5 separate regions of the Homo sapiens genome follow, and regions 1, 2, 4 and 5 are each linked to region 3. Evidence: promoter capture Hi-C in 16 types of primary human blood cells and fetal thymus (Javierre and others, 2016). All regions are on one chromosome and are shown on one strand. Each heading gives the region's core, a stretch centred on a gene start or on the middle of the fragment in contact. The rest is flanking DNA. Distances are from core to core; before and after follow the strand shown. Region 1 holds the start of ZSWIM6 (zinc finger SWIM-type containing 6). Region 2 overlaps PDE4D (phosphodiesterase 4D). Region 3 holds the start of DEPDC1B (DEP domain containing 1B). Region 4 overlaps ZSWIM6 (zinc finger SWIM-type containing 6). Region 5 overlaps LINC03122 (long intergenic non-protein coding RNA 3122).

Region 1 (3,276 bases), core at 651-3,150, 630 kb before region 3:
AAGGAAGGCTGTGCAGCTCTAAATCACAAGTCCTTCTCTCGCCTTTGTCAAATATATTCTACTTTACAAGCCCTGAAAAGAAAGAGACTCTTTTGTTTGGTTTCTCCTTTTCGGAGGGTGACAGAAAACTGAAAGGGGCACAAAAAAACCTGAAAATGAGAACAAAGTGCTGGGTCGTGCCGGGCTGCCGCGCCGCGGGGACGCGGGAGCGGCCGCCGAGCCCTCTGCCTCGCGCTCCTGCAGCCCGCTCGCCCCTTTGGCTGCGAGCGGCAAATCCGCAACTGCCGACCGCGGCTCGCCCGGGGCACCACGACCTGACCACACAGCGCAAACAAAACTCGGGCGGCGGGGCACAAGGGCTGCGCCGCGGCCCGCACAGGGGTGTCTGGAGGCAGCTTCAGAGAAAAGGGAAGCGCTAGCAGCTCCTCCTCAGGCTCGCGCCCTTTAATTAGTAAGCGTCCTACGGGCGAGATGTCCCTCCGGAGACGGAGTCCGGTCCGCCGCCACCTCTCCTCTGCGCCGCTTGGAGACTGAGGAGGCGCAAAGAAAACGACATTTAAACCCCGGGCGGCCAGTGGAGCTCGCCCGGGCCAGACGCCACAGCGACCCGGGAGCGCCGCGGCCGCTCGCCCGTCGGAGCCCTGGGAGGAGCGGCGGCCGAGCGGCTTTAAGTGTATTCCCCTCCCCTCAAATCGCGTGGGGCGGGGGCCAGAAAGAAAAAGGAGCGAGCGACAGGCAGTGGGAGAGGGGGGGAGCGCCGAGCGGCCGGGCCGCGGCCGGCATTGTCTGCGGCCCGCGCCCCCTCCCCCGCCCCGCACAGCCCCGCCACACACACCCTCGCCGGAGGCCGGCCGTCCGCCCGCGCCTTTGTCCACATCCACCCCCGAAACCGGCGAACAGCCCTCCAGGATGTGCTCCCCGGAGGAGGGCGGGTAGGGGAGCGCGGGCCGGGGGCGCGGAGCCCACGGAGGGGCGCGTCCTGCTGATTCATTTCCCACTCGCGCTGGCCCGTCCGGGGCGACGGGGGGCAGGGAAGGGAGGGAGGAAATGGGCGCTCCGCTCAGGAGGACCGTCCGGGCCAGTGAGGACACCCGCAGGGGTGCGGGCGCGCGCGGAACTAGGGGCTGTCCGCAGGAGAAAGGCGGGCACCCCCCCCCCACCCAGGGACTGACGGACGGACAGACGGCTCGCGGCTGCCCCGTGACTCACCGACTTGCAGGACGTTGTCTACGCAGCCGCTTTCCAACAGCGCGATGCCCCGGCGGAAAGGCAGCCGCGTCTCGTCGCCGCCGTCCGCCGCCCCGGCAGCCCCCACCGACGGGGCCCCGGCCCCCGCGGCGGCGGCGGCGGCGGCGGCGGCGGCGGCAGCGGCGGCGGCGGCCGAGGTTGCGGCCGCCGAGGTTGCGGCCGGGGAAGACGAGGAGCCGCCGCCGCCGCCGCCGCCCGCGCCGCCGCCGCCACCGCTGTCGTCGCCGGGGCCGCCCGCGGCGCCGCCGCCGGTGTTGAAGGACGAGTACATGCAGATCTCCCGCTCGCTGCGGGGGAAGGACCAATAGACTATGCGGCGCTGCACCGGCTCCGGGATGCGCTCAAAGCGCTCCTCCACGCGCTGGAACGGCCACTTCTCCGCCACCCTGCGCGCCGCGATGTCCAGCAGCGACTCGGGGCTCTGGGTCTTGCCCGGCGGCAGCAACCCCAGCGCCGCGCCGCCCCCGCACGCCGCCGCCGCCGCCGCGCCACCCGCCCGCGGGCCTGGCCGACAGGCAGAGCTGTAGCCGCCACCCGCGCCGCCGCCGCCGCCGCTGCTGCCCCCGCCGCCGCCGCCGCCGCCCGGCCGGCAGCAAAGCCGTTTCGCGGGAGGAGGCTGCTGTCCGCGCTCCGCCATGACCGCGCCGCTTCTAACCCGACAGCGGAAGTGCCGGGACCCTATAAACGGCACTAGGAAGCGCGACACGCACACGCCGTCGCGACGCCACGATGCCATCTAGGGCCCGCCGCTCCTTGTATGGGCACAAGAGGTGGGGCCTCCGCTGTGACGCAGAAGCTGGGGCGGGGCTCTGATAGGGGGAACCTAGGGCCGGGGGCGGGGCCTATGCAAATCGCTGGGCTGAAACATAAATAGAGCGCTTGGCGGACACGGGGGTGGCGGGGGCGGGCCGTTTTGGTGCCCGGTGGGTTGTGAGAATGTCAGGCTGCTGTGACGCGGGGGAGGGCGGGGTCAGGCGGGGTTCCCGTGGGAGGGGGCGGGCCGCCGGGCCGGGCCTGAGGTGGGTGGGTCTCTGCGCCCCCTGCCTACCCCACTTCCCCCTCCAGTTCTCAGCTTCTCTTTGAAGTCCGAGAAGTGAGGATGCGCCTCGTGGGTCGCAGCGGGGGAGGAAAGGGGAGAAGAGGGGGTGAGCGAAGGGGAGGGTTCTGAGCTAAATGGAGGGCGGGGCCCACGGGCCGATGCCCCACCCCCCCCGTCCCCCTGCCCTTCGGGGGAAAAGCCTCTGGGCGGAGGAGGCGCTTTCAAAACAAAGAAATGCGGCATGGACCCCGGGGGACGCGGGTGGAGAGGAAGGCGGAGGAGGCGCGGCCAAACCCGAGCGCCTGCCAGCTTCCCCTCCAGCCGGTCCAGGGGAGCTCTCCCCACCACCCGCCGAAGCTGCAGCGGGGAAGGGGGAGGATGGCTGCGTTCGGCGGCGGCTTTCCACTTCACTTTTGCAGACCTGGTGTGGAAGGAGCGCGCCCGCTCTGCTAACCCCGCGTGGCTGCAGTGCGCCCATCCCCGAGCCCCGCGTCCGTTCTGTCTCGGCTGCAGGGCTGTGCCCGAAAACACGCAGAGCGCTCGGAACGTGCCCAGCAGCCGCGCGACCCGCGTCCGGTGCCGGCTGCCACCGTCCCGCCCTCGCTGCCTCAGCCCCTCGGGCCAGGAAACCGACCCGCCCGCTAGAAGTCGAGGAGCTCCGGCCGCCCTTGTCGCCCCCGCGGCCGCGCGGACAAGGCCCCGCTCCAGGCCGGGGTTTCTCCAGCTCGGGGTGGAACGCAGCCCGGGCTGTGGGGTTAGCAGACACACCTTTGTGAGTACACACGCCGCAGGGCGCGCGCAAGCCCCACGGGCTCGCGCACACATCGCCCAGCAGGCGGCAGACGGCGTGCCAGGCGGCGGACGGCGGCTTCGGGCGCACTTGGGTCTGCGGCCCGGCTCCCACCCCGGCACCCGGGTGCGCGGCGCCCGGCTGCGCGGAGTCCAGGCGCTCGGGACGCGCGCCGCGCTCTCAGTCGCCTTGGCGGCGC
Region 2 (3,040 bases), core at 263-2,762, 880 kb after region 3:
AAGAGTTTTTGGCACCAGAAAGGATATTTTACCTGTAGTCTGACCTACATGGAGTGAGGGAGCCTGAACATGTTTCCATGAGTGTTCTAGTTCAATGGGCAGAAAGATCCATCAGGAGAAAGCCTTTGTCACTGATGGCTTTGAAATTGTTCAAATGACTTTGCAGTTCACAACACGTGAGCTTAATCATTGGTTTGGCTCTTCTGAGGAGCTGAGGGAGACAAAGAAGCAAAGTTATTTTCCCAGAGGTAGTGAGGCCCAAGATGCTCAGAAAAGATTTAATTGAAAGATGCCATTGCTGAAATTTCTTTTATAATGTTCTGCCTGTGGCTTTCCAATAGTAATAGTAGTAGCAGTTGTTGTAATAATAGAGATAGTAGTTGTATTGATAGCAATAATAATAGCTACTATTTATTGAGCACTGACTGTGTTTCAGGCATGGGTCCATGCACTTTACATATATTAACTCATTTAAACCTCCCAACAACCTAACAAGGTAAAGATGATTATTATCCCATTTCACAACTGAGCAAACTGGGACATGAGATTTAAGGAACGTGCCCAAGCTCACACAGCTAGGCGATCACCAATTATACATTTCCTCTCTGCAAGAGAACAGTCTATTTTTCAAAAACATGCTGATAAAACAGCAATCCCATTTGCTTCTAAGGACAAACCCTGCCATGCCTGAGTGTTGCCATTCTTAAACTCCAGGCCAGGGCTTGCCTTTGGATACATGTGAGCTTCACTGGGCTCTCTGCTCAATGTCCCTCCTCAGAGTGTCTCCCTAACCACCTCTCTTGATCTCTCTCCACCCCTTTATTCCACTTGGGTTTTCTTCAGCACACTTAGGGCTACCTGACAGTGTTAGCAAGGCTACAAAGCAAAACACCAGATGGGGTGGCTTAAATAACAATCATTTATTTTCTCACAGTTCTGGAGGCTGGAAGCTTGAGATCAGTGTGCCAGCTTGGTTCAGTGCTGGTTATGGGTCTCTTCTTGGCCTGCAGACACAGACACCTTTTCACTATGTCCTCACATGGCCTTTCTGTGTGTGTGTGGGGGGGGGTGTGGGTGTGTGCGCGCGCGCGCGTGCCTGCATGCCTGTGTAGGGAGAAAGAGAAAGCTCTTTGCCTCTTCTTATAAGGTCAGATTAGGACCCTACCCTTATGACCACATTTAAACTTATTTACTGACTAAAAGCCCTATCTTCAGATATAGTGACATTGAGAGTTCAACATATGAACATATGAGCTGATAGGAATATATGAATTGATGGGAACATATCAACACTTCAACATATGAATTGGGGTGAGGGACGCAATACAGTCCATAGTGGTGACCCAGCATATATTTAATAGGTCATTAATGTGTTTACTATGTGTCTTTCCCACTCCTCCCGGTATTAGTAATCTAAATACCAGTAAGGATTTGAGGTTCTTCTTTGTTGTATTCCTAATACCTAAGACACTGTCCCACACATGGTAGATGTTCAATACATATTTGTTGGATAAATAAAAAATACAGAGCTCCCTCTTCTCCCCTACATGTTGGAAAATGTGTGTGATCTAAATGAGGGAGAGGGAGAACCATCTCATCTAATCTTCCAAACTTCCTGAGCCACCTTTAGCTACTGAGCACATTCACGTTTCCGTCAGCTGGGAATTTAGGTGCCCTGCCTATCATCCTCTGGAGCCCATCCCAGGAGGGGGCAGAAGGAGGTGGAGCAGCACACTAGTGTTCCCAGAGTGGGGAGAGCAGATGGAGAGGAGTTCATGGGAACGATGATTTACCCCTGCTCACTTACCCCTGTGAGAGGACACTGCCCTCCACGAATCAATGCTGGCTCCTCCTCCAGGAACCAGGCTTCTGCATCTCACTTGCCATGCTGTGGATCTAGGAACAAATTTGCATTTGGAAATTCATTTTAAAGTGTGCATGCTGAGGTTCTGGTGACATGCAGGGTAACTTCTCCCACCCACGATATCTCTTGACTCAGGCCTTCATGTAGGAGGGGAGGAGTGTTTGGCAGCAAAACTGGGTATTTCTTAGGAAGGAAATCCTTCTAAGCTTTATGGAAATCCTAGGGTGTTGTCCCTACCTTTCTGAGTGTGGAGCAGACTATCTGTGTACATAGCGGTAGTGAGGGGTGTAATATTGGAGAATGGCTTAGGTAACAGCCAAAATATACATTGTATATCCCCAAAAAGACGACCAAAGACTCACAGGCCATGCTGCTATCATTAGATATAATAGGCATAGCCTTTCATTGATATGTAAATGTTAGTATTTTTGGTAAGTGCCTTATTTTATCTTCTGGATAATATAAGATACAAGTACCATGAGGGCAGGATCCTTCTCTCATTCATTTTTTTTCCCAAGAGCATAGCACAAAGTAGGAAGTACTTGTTGAGCGAATGAATGATCCTAAATATGAAAGGATGGCATTTTATCGCCATTTTCCAGATGAGAAAAAAACGAGGGAGCTTATCAGGTTTATATATAGTGAGTGACAAACTTCAGAATTAAACCAAAATCTAGTAATTCCTATAACTTACAGGTTATTAAGGAGTCCACCTGAATGTAAGTCCAACAAGACAGGTGTTTATTTTGTTTACATACATTCCAAGTACCTAAGACAATGCCTAACATATATAAAATACTTCATAAACATCTTCATGTGTGAATAGAATTTTCAAAGTTCATCTCAATATATGCCTCATGTGACACTTCCAACCCTTCACTGCCAGGTCTTTCAGTCTTTATTTGAATAGGTTCAGTAAGAAAGAATTCACTCGTGCTTTAGATATGTATGGCTTTTCCACATTGTTGTCAGTTCTAAATCCCGAAAGTTATTTTTGTATGCTTGGAATACTTCACAATATTCACAATTTTTACAATAAAATAATTTCAGGTCTTCTTGATGAAAAATGTCGATCAGGACAGGGCTGAGGATAATCACAAGGCTTGAAATTAAAGAAGTCTCCTTAGGCTGAAATGAATTTCTAGTTGTAAAACCAAATATGAATCTATGTATTTG
Region 3 (3,116 bases), core at 35-2,534:
CTCCTTTTGCCTTATGCCCCTCAGTCGAACTCTTTCTTCTGAGGAGTCAAGAATTGAGGTTGCTGCAGATCTGTAGGAATTCACTGCCTGTAACATACTTTGGGGCCGTGTCTCGGATATGGGCAGCTGCTAACATATTTTGGTGCCCTGTGACTCGAGTTAACTTCCACAGCTCACAAAGGCAGTAACATTTTCTAGGGAGTCACTAGAAGATATATGTAAAAAATCTCCTATATCTCCTAGTGGAAGATAGGGTTACTTCGTTAAGAATGTTTATTCAGGTCCACTGCAGCCTTCAATTCCAAGCCTTTGGTGATAAAGGCTATTTTCTCACCGTGGTAGGGAGAGGATGCCCATCCCAGAGAAATCTTTGTGGCCTGCTGCATCGAAGAGGCAGGTCAGCTTGCCCTTTCTGAAACTACCATTTCTCCAATGTTTTCCGCTCGAAATAATCAATATACCAATTAGGCATATTTTGGAATGGCACACCTTCACTCCTTCAACGTCTTGTCCTGGGTACTTACCGAGATGACCAAATTTGAGTAGGTGTACAGAGTCCTAAGTATATGGAGTTACTTCATTTGTCCCTCTGAAAGATTGCAAATCGGACTAGCAATTCCCAGGGGGAAAATTCTAAGCAGTCAAAAAAGGACTCACAACCCTATTGCCGAGGACTAAAAGTATCAGCCCAATACAAAACATAGAACTCAAATTAAAGGGGAAAAGACTATCATGAGAACAAACAGAAGAGGAATCGGGGCTCCCTTCCCGCTCTTTATTGCCCTTAACACACTGTCTACGCTCCTTGTGCTCTCTATCCCGTTTTTAAATGTCCCTACACTGGTAAAAGCTGTCGCCTCGCTTCATTTCACTACCGCTTCTCCCAGCGTTAGCAGCACCTCCAGGCTCACAGTGCACTTGGTAGGGAGGACAGGTATTTATCCACGCGGCCCAAAGCTGGGTTTCGGTCGCTGGATAACACCTATTATTGACCCTTTTGTAGAGATAGCGTTGCGTGTGTTTGTGTTGCGCGGACGCAGAAATCTGGGAAGGGCGCTGCACAGCGTTTTCCAGCGCTGGGGAGACGCCCCCGGCCCCTTAGTCGCACCTGCCTAGGTGTGCTCGCACGGTGGGACCAGGGTGGGCAACAGATTTCGCCCCGGGCAAGTTCGCACGCGGAGCTCCCAGCGCCGCGGGTCTCGGAGAAGACGCCTGCCTCCCCGCGCATTTCCGGTGACGTGCTGCCGCGCCGCCCAATCAGCGCCCGCAGCCCGCGGGCTTGGGATTCAAACTGCTGCTCCTCCGGCTGGCGGGGATCAGCGCTGGCGCGGCTGCGGCCGCTGCTGCCTACGCGCCATGGAGCATCGCATCGTGGGGCCCGGGCCGTACCGAGCTACCAGGCTGGTGAGTGAGTGTGCTGGGGCCTGGGCGGAGCACCCGGTGCCGCGAGCCCCCACTCAGCGCGCGGACAGAGTGCTTGTCAGTCTTCGCTTCCGCAGGCCAGCGGGGCTCGGGTGTGGAGCATTTCAGCTGGGACTACTGGGGCTGCCTTTTAGTGGACGAGCCTCAAAGAAAGGCTAACGGGGCCCAGAGCTCAGCCGGCCGGGGGTTAGTGCAGCTTTGTCCATGAGATGTTGACTGGGTTCTCGGCAGTAGATGGCGCCTCTCTGTTTAAAGACCCCAAGACCAGGCTGTTCCCTGCCTTTTGTCCTCTGGAATCTAACCGACCCGGTCGGTAACCTGAGGGGCCACCACGTACCCCGTAACGCTCAGCGTTCGCGGCAGTCCAGGCAGGGCGTGTCTCCTTCCTGAGTGACACCTGATGATACCTGACGGGGTATTCGAATAAACGGTGCCCAGAACAGAGGGGCATCGCGCTGGCCGCATTTCCGGCCCCTGGCGTTTCTGTTTCTGTCAGCACCGATCCAGATGAAGAGCTGGCCAGGACAGATGTTTTAGGAGAGTCTTTGCCGACTCTGAGTTCCTGTTTTTTTTTTTTTTTTTTTCTGGGAGAAAAGCTTTGGTATTGAGGTGTACTTGGTCTGCTTTGACTTGGAACAATAAAGGGTGACAGTTTGGTAATGTCTGTGGCAAGTTTTTAGAGGACTTTCTGTGGAAGTGTAATGGTAATTTGGGAGGACAGTAACTTGCTCCTTGGTCTGCCGACCTCTCTGGCCACATTTAACATGGGAATTACTCTCATAGTTCCATGCATTATAATGAATACACAGGAAAAGATGGGAACTAACATCCAAACTCTTACTCAGCTAGACTCATGGAAGAGGTGAGGATGCTGGGATACAGATAATGTAAATAGAGTTTCCTTTTCTTTCCAAAGCCAGCCACACACTATACCAGTAAGTCAAGCCAGAGCTGAGAAGGCCAGCTTCTGGAAGAGAAATCATAGTTGGGGCTGATGGGTCTTTACTTTTTAAATTTGGCTCATAGATCGCTTTGAGAATCTGATGAAGATTAAGGATCTTCTTCACAGAAAACTGCACATGGCACATACTCATGAAATTTTACATGATTTAAGGGGATGGATCGCTTGAGGTCAGGAGTTCGAGACCAGCCTGGCCAACACAGCAAAACCCCGTCTGTACTAAAAATACAAAAATTAGCTGGGCATGGTGGCATGCGCCTATAGTCTCAGCTACTCAGGAGGCTGAGGCAGGAGAATCTCTTGAACCTGGGAGGCAGAGGTTGCAGTGAGCTGAGATCGCGCCATTGCACTCCAGCCTGGGCAACGAGCGAAACTCCATCTCAAAAAAAAAAAAAAATAATAAGGAGATTGGGAGAGTCTGTGACATTGTTTTATTTGGCATAAAGACAAGCATTTTATTTGCTCATCCTTTGGATCAGTAATCTGGGCTAGACTCATGTCAATGGTTCTTTTGTGGAGGTCACTCATGTGCCACAAATAATGTGACTTGGCTATTACTGGATGATGGAAGATGGCTGCTTGACTTGGTCCTGGCTGTTACCTGGGCCAGATATCTCTAACAGGTTATCGGAGGCATCTTCACGTAGTGGTCTCATGGTTCCAACGTAGCTAAAAGGAAGTTTCAGCTTGTGACTTTTTCTTCAAATCTCATTGGTCAAAGCAAGTTAAACAG
Region 4 (3,252 bases), core at 111-2,610, 710 kb before region 3:
GATTTACCAGAAGTAAAGTTACAAGGCTAACATAACAAAGATCAATTTTTCATTTCTTGTGGGCTGAAATTAAATCAATTTATTGTGGTTACATTGGTTATTTGATCGGTATTAGCAGCTATAATGTCTTTGATTAATTTCCTAAAATCTCAATATATGAATGAAAATGAAAATGCATGCTATGGTCTGCATACTTATCCCCAACCCCAATTCATATGTTGAAATCCTCACCTCCAAGGTGATGTGCCGCCTTTACAAGGTTAAGTAGGTCACGGATGTAGAGCCCTCATGAATGGGATTAGGGCCCTTAAAAAGAGGCCCAAGAGAGACCTTTCATCCTTTCCTTCTACCACATGAAGACACAGCAAGAAGGTGCCATCCAGGAACCAGGAAAAGGGGCCTCATCAGACACCCAATCTGATGGCACCTTGATCTTGGACTTCTTAGCCTCCAGAACTGGGACAAATAAATTTGTATGGTTTATAAGCTACTGGTTAAAGGTATTTTTGTTATAGGAGCCTGAGTGGATTAACACATTGAAGACAATATATTTCAAAACATGTGTTAACTAGACAAAAGTAATTTTAAAGTGTTCTTATTAAAGACAAGGTTGAAATTTCCTGAAACATTTTAGAGTATTCAGGAAGCAAAACTATATTCTAGCTTTGTCCAAAAGCTTCCAATTAGGGGGTTGTTTCTTCACTAATATCAAGACTTCAGGGAAGCAATTTTTACTGTATTCCCATCCTTTGTAACTCAAAATGTGCTCACCTTAGTTGTCATTAAAGTTTAAAAAACAATTGAGTCACACTTAAGTCCAAATACAGACTCATCCAACAAGACACAAACATTCACTCCATATTTTGAGAGGACTGTATTTTAGAAGAACTGATAACTAATTTGGCAAAAACAAAGAAAGGAAACCTCATTCTAAATACACACTCAAATCACTCAAGGCTCCACTCCTAGAGCACAGGACCTCCCAGCGACTTTGCTGCAGTGCTTCAGACAAGCAGAGAGATGGAGAGACCAGTCAGCATCCACACCAGGTTGCCATTTCTTCTGCTGCCCTTTCCAAGCATGCCAAACCATAGTGTATTATTAACCAGAATATTCTTACGTCTTCATAAAAGCGTTTTTTGCCTTGAGTCCTGTTATAGGAAAACTAATAAAAAGCATTTTCCCCTGGAGAAACTAAGACACGATGAGATTAAAAGTGGACAAAGTCGTATAACTGGTGACTTAGCAAACTAAGCACACTTCATACCTCATTCTTAATTCAATGTTCAATCTGTCAAATATTCCTGTTGGCTATTCTATGTATTAAATGAAATGACCTTAATATTTGAGTTCAATGTAACAGTAGTTTACAACTCTGTACTCTTAAAATTATTCTGCATGAAGTGTACTATCAACAAAAAGGTATCTAAGTGAAAAACACCAGTCTTTAGAATCTAGTCAGATGGTTTAAAAAGGAAATAAATCGCCGGGCACGGTGGCTCATGCCTGTAATCCCAGCACTCTGGGAGGCCAAGGTGGGTGGATCACGAGGTCAGGAGATCGAGACCATCCTGGCCAACATGGTGAAACCCCATCTCTACTAAAAATACAAAAATTAGCCAGGCATGGTGGCACGTGCCTGTAATCCCAGCTACTCGGGAGGCTGAGGCAGGAGAATCGCCTGAACCAGGGAGTCAGAGGTTGCAGTGAGCCGAGATCGCACCACTGCACTCCAGCCTGGCAACAGAGTGAGACTCCGTCTGAAAAAAAAAAAAAAAAAAAGGAAATACATCCATTATTACAATACTATTCACAAACTCAGAACACTTAAATTCTGTGCAATTGTCAATGTGGGGCTGAGCACTAGAGTACCGGGGTAATTTAGGGCTACACATGTTGCCTTTTGCCAAGGCTGGTCCTGAGTTTTCGTAGTTTTGTATCTTCCTGGTCTATATGCTGACTTCACCTTAGTTGGGCTGCTATACATAGGTGAAATCACAGTGATTGTGCCTAAGGAAACCATGAAGATCATACGGAAGCTTCTCAACATGAAGGACAAATAAGTCCAAGGCTTCCTCTCATGAAAGGCTAAAACTCCCTTTATCAAAAGTCACAACAGTGCCACTTTTACAAATCTGGGGTCCCTGAAAGAGTTACTCAAATCAATTAAATTAACTATCAGATAACTTCAGTAGCTACTCAAAATAGTCTTCCTTTACTGGCCTGATCAAGTAACAATGTTTTCCATGGAGCTTAATGGCTCCTTTTAGATCCTTGTCTATGAACTGGTATTGCACTCCATGCTTACCCACCCGCAGCTCTCACCATCCCACATATCCCTCTCCACAAAAAGCTAATAAATTTGCATTCCTGACTCTGACTCATACAACTAAGAAACCGAAGACTAACAAAACTCTTAGGTATGACTAAGCAAAATGATCTAATTAATAAATAGTCAAGAAATACAAATGTTTTTAAAAGTAAAATTAACCATCAAGAAAACAGGGTATGGTGGAGAAGGGGGAACTATAGCTCTAAACACCATCCTTGTAAGTTGCTACCAAGAACCCACATTTTTCTTTAAAGGCTGAAAATCAGCAGTAATAACCCAAAACTATCTTGCGCAAAGGTGGTCTTAATAGAGATATAATTAATCTTGCCAATTTTCCACATAATTTCTCTCCTTTTTTGATCTTTTGCTTTACAAAATCATGCTTGAAAACTTTTACAATTTCTTTCTGGTAGCAATTCTGAAATGAAAATGGACTGCAGGTAAGTAAATTTGAGAACCTCCTTAAACAGCAAAAATCACCTCCCTAGCCCCTCCACTGGTAAAAATCACCAAAGTTTTTACTGTGGCCCCCTCGTTCTCAGAAACAAAAACAAAAACAAAATGGCCTTTGAAGTTGGACAATTTGGTATGTGTTACATTTAATTTTGTGCTTATACTTAATACCTAAAGTGAAGCAATACAGAGGCCTGGATTTCAAAAACGGGAAAAAAAAAAAAAAAAAAAAAAACCTTTCCCCTCATTACAAAGAAAATCTATAATCATAATTTAGAAGTCATCAAGGAAACGCAAATCTTGTGCCACCCCGCCTCTGCGCGGTCGGGTCAGTCACACACACGCCGCCCCGCCCCCGCGCCATCAGTCACACGCAGGCCTCGCCCCATCCTGACTCCCAACCCCGCCCCTCGCGCTGTCAGTCTCTGACTCTGGCCTGCGGCTGAACCGGCGGCGCTGACGTCAGC
Region 5 (2,942 bases), core at 423-2,922, 960 kb before region 3:
TTTTAAAGACATAAAGAAGAGCTTTAGATTCTTTTTCTGCTCTTTTAATTAAGATGTGTGCCACCATTTTCTAAGAACAATTGTGGATTCCATTTGGTACACAAACAATGCCTCCTTTTTCAATCCTGGTGAGCTGTAACTAGGTTTTGTTATGTGATATAATATTGAAGACTGCATAGATTCAACTGCCATCATTTTTATGATAATCATAGCACTTTTAGCTTTTCTCTCAATAATGTACTTGGATAAATGGGCAATTTTTGATGGCCCAAAAAGATAATAACCGTTTGGTTCTGAACGTCACTGCTTTCCTAAGGTACATGTTCCCCCTTTTCAGACTTTATTATTTGTTGCATTTATTCAAGAAAGGTTATCCACAGTAAAACTGCTTTTTCTATTCAACAGTCTATCTCTGTCATGGTTCATTTATGTGTGAGCATGACGGACTGAAGCCCGTATTATCCACAGCTGACAAGTGTCAGGCCGACAGTTCAATCAGCCCTTCCTCGAGATGATGCCCAGGGCCCCGTGTTTGAAGTAGGACAATAAAGCAGGCAACACAATCCGGGCAAACTGATCCGATCCCTGTATGTAAAGGGGATTCTGCTTAATAACACAGTGTGGTTTTTTTCCCTCTCCAAACACATTAGTCCTTAAACAGTGAGTTGGCCCTTAAGAAAATCTGTGACTGACATGAAAATGCTGAAGTTTTAAGGTGGTTGGTTTATCCGTAACCTCATGGGGCTGCTTCTTTGTGCAGACTAGTTTTGTCAAAGTCAGAAAAATAATGTATTCAGTGTCTGATCATTTTTAGGGAGTTATTCGAATGGGATTTTAAGTCAGACATCCTGATGTTGACACAGGGATCATTTTCTTGTCCTTTTGTTTTACATTTGTGGAACAGATCATTTGCATTGGCTAATAAAATTAAATCTCTGAAATGCATACAAAAGTGAGTTCCCTTCAGCAACAATCCTCAATTCCCTCCACCAGCCGAGTAAGCAGAGTTGCTGGGTGTGTTTCTTTATATTGGGTCTCTCTAGAACACAGGCTATAATGCAAACATATCTTCAAAATTAGTGCTCCTTCGGCCTGGGTAACACTTAGACTCAAATGTATATTAAAGTATTTCACTACAGATCCTGACAATCAACAGCAGAGCCAAAGTCGATAAAATGCTAATAACCTGCTGCGGTCTGTTCCTTGGAGGACTGGGGTACTGCTGTTGTGCTCTCTTCCAGCCTTCAAACCATTGCAGGCGACAACGGGCAAGGGAAGGCGGCTCACCCCTTTAGAAGGGGCCAGAGCACTACATGCCTTTCATAAGGAGGAAGCCAAAGACCCTCTTAAAGCATCATAAAACCTTCAAGCCAGAAGGCACAATGCAAAACATCAAACCCAACCTCTTCCATACTTGATGAATGAGGCTCAGAGACATTTTTGTGACTTCCAACGTCAGAGAGCTTGTAAGTAGCAGTGGAAGGAAAAGGTTAACAACAACAACAAAAGAATCCTCTGAATTTTGCTTCTCTTTATATGACTTTACTAGGCTGGGCAAGTTAGTGCAGAAGGGACTGATGAAAAGCAGAATCCAGAAGTCAGAACGTGAGGAATGATGCCGGCAACTACCAAACATGACTTCTGTCAATTTCCTTCTTGCACAATGCTGGAAGTCCTAAGTAACGTATTTTCTGTGAATGTTGGTTTTTCTCCGTCTACCCTGCTCTGTCCGAATCTACCCATTTACTGCATTCTCTCCCCCACTTTGACCCCACAGACCACATCACCCAAACACCCTTGGCTGCTGGCTTCCAACTGTATTAGAGACGAGGGGAGGCACTAATGGCCAGTCAAGTGGGAAGAGAGAAGCTACACTGTGTCCTTGTCCCCTGCTTGGACTCCCCATCTCAGAAGAAGACTGTGTCCCTCCAGCACTCCTGCTTCCACCGAGAGGCTCTTCCTCCAGGGCTCCAACTATCATGGGCCCCAGTCCCTCAGTTTCCTCCCCTTGGCCCTTCATCCTTGGGGATACCAGCTCCCCACTGGTGCTAAACTTGGGGTGCCTCCCATCTCTTGTTTGTCCACCTACCTCTGCCCACACTTCTGAAGTAGCCCCTTCTTTAAAGTCTCCAGCAGAACCATCTCCAGTGAGTTCTGTTTCCTGCTGGGACTCTGATGCATTGAGTGATTTGCATTGCTAACTGATCCTACTTCTAGTCCAGTAGTTCTTAGGATATTCTAAAATCCCACAGAGAATCTGATGAAAGCTATAGGATCTCTTCCCACACACACAAAAAAGTCACTTCTGCACATATGCATAAAATTTCAGACAACTGTGGCATGCTCATAGACACTTAAAGGCTATTTACAAATTTTCTAGGGCATCCATGAAACCCCCAATATCAAACACCCATTTGCTCCATTTGATCATATCACGTCCTTCTCAAAAGCCTCTCCTGATGTCAAATCAACTACCAGAAAGCATGAAACCCAGACTCCTCAGAGCAGCATTTCAGGCTAAATCTGCCAGGGCCCCATTAACAAAAGAGCTGAAGGGGAAATTTAATACAGGGGAGTTGTTGCAAAGGTGGAGAAAGAGGTGAAATGACAAGGGCAATGGTAAGGCAATCCAAAGATCAGCACCAGCAGCAAGCCAGGAATGAGGCCTGAGGGTCAAAGGAAAGAGGTGATGTCACCAAAGCCCAGGAGCCAGGGCTGTCCGGGGGAGCCAAAATCATAACAGGGGTCTCTCGACAGGAGCTGGAGTCCAGAAAAAAGACCCAGCCACAGCTGGTGATGCTGCCAAAGCAGAAAGAGAAGGTGAGGACTCTCAGGGCTTCTTTTCTCCTGCAGCTCTCCAGTCTTCACAGACCACATGACTCAGCAGCTAGCTGAGCAAAAGCCTGCAGGGATGCCTGAGGACCAGGGCAGGGGGAAGGCTG

The links. The method cuts DNA at HindIII sites, captures the fragments that hold promoters and counts their contacts. A CHiCAGO score of 5 or more calls a contact.
Region 1: the fragment with the promoter of ZSWIM6 here is called in contact with the fragment with the promoter of DEPDC1B in region 3 in 1 of 17 cell types (total CD8 T cells); the score reaches 6.3 in total CD8 T cells.
Region 2: a fragment that was not itself captured here is called in contact with the fragment with the promoter of DEPDC1B in region 3 in 1 of 17 cell types (monocytes); the score reaches 6.0 in monocytes.
Region 4: a fragment that was not itself captured here is called in contact with the fragment with the promoter of DEPDC1B in region 3 in 1 of 17 cell types (total CD8 T cells); the score reaches 6.1 in total CD8 T cells.
Region 5: a fragment that was not itself captured here is called in contact with the fragment with the promoter of DEPDC1B in region 3 in 1 of 17 cell types (total CD8 T cells); the score reaches 5.5 in total CD8 T cells.

What each region holds. Positions count from the first base shown.
Region 1 is chr5:61,330,882-61,334,157 of GRCh38, reverse strand. ZSWIM6 (zinc finger SWIM-type containing 6) reads right to left here and starts at 1,900. Exons shown (of 14, transcript NM_020928.2): 1 at 1,210-1,900. The coding sequence starts at 1,885. LOC105378994 (a long non-coding RNA gene) reads left to right here and starts at 1,942. Exons shown (of 2, transcript XR_007058781.1): 1 at 1,942-2,018. RefSeq lists silencers at 1,006-1,115, 1,896-2,035, 2,146-2,545, 2,756-2,825, 2,856-3,276 and 2 more and an enhancer at 3,240-3,276. The HindIII fragment of the contact is 10,173 bases long and covers 1-3,276 here.
Region 2 is chr5:59,815,772-59,818,811 of GRCh38, reverse strand. All of the region lies in intron 1 of PDE4D (phosphodiesterase 4D), which reads left to right. Among named protein-coding and RNA genes, the nearest start is that of PDE4D, 76 kb to the left of the region's middle. The HindIII fragment of the contact is 1,120 bases long and covers 953-2,072 here.
Region 3 is chr5:60,698,334-60,701,449 of GRCh38, reverse strand. It overlaps DEPDC1B (DEP domain containing 1B), which reads left to right and starts at 1,284. Exons shown (of 11, transcript NM_018369.3): 1 at 1,284-1,404. The coding sequence starts at 1,357. It overlaps LOC124900982 (a long non-coding RNA gene), which reads right to left and starts at 1,210. Exons shown (of 2, transcript XR_007058779.1): 1 at 1,109-1,210. The HindIII fragment of the contact is 2,062 bases long and covers 1-2,020 here.
Region 4 is chr5:61,408,840-61,412,091 of GRCh38, reverse strand. All of the region lies in intron 1 of ZSWIM6 (zinc finger SWIM-type containing 6), which reads right to left. Among named protein-coding and RNA genes, the nearest start is that of ZSWIM6, 78 kb to the right of the region's middle. RefSeq lists a silencer at 3,066-3,252 and an enhancer at 2,882-3,252. The HindIII fragment of the contact is 1,363 bases long and covers 679-2,041 here.
Region 5 is chr5:61,654,773-61,657,714 of GRCh38, reverse strand. The region is part of intron 1 of LINC03122 (long intergenic non-protein coding RNA 3122); the gene reads right to left. Among named protein-coding and RNA genes, the nearest start is that of LINC03122, 18 kb to the right of the region's middle. The HindIII fragment of the contact is 4,377 bases long and covers 1-2,942 here.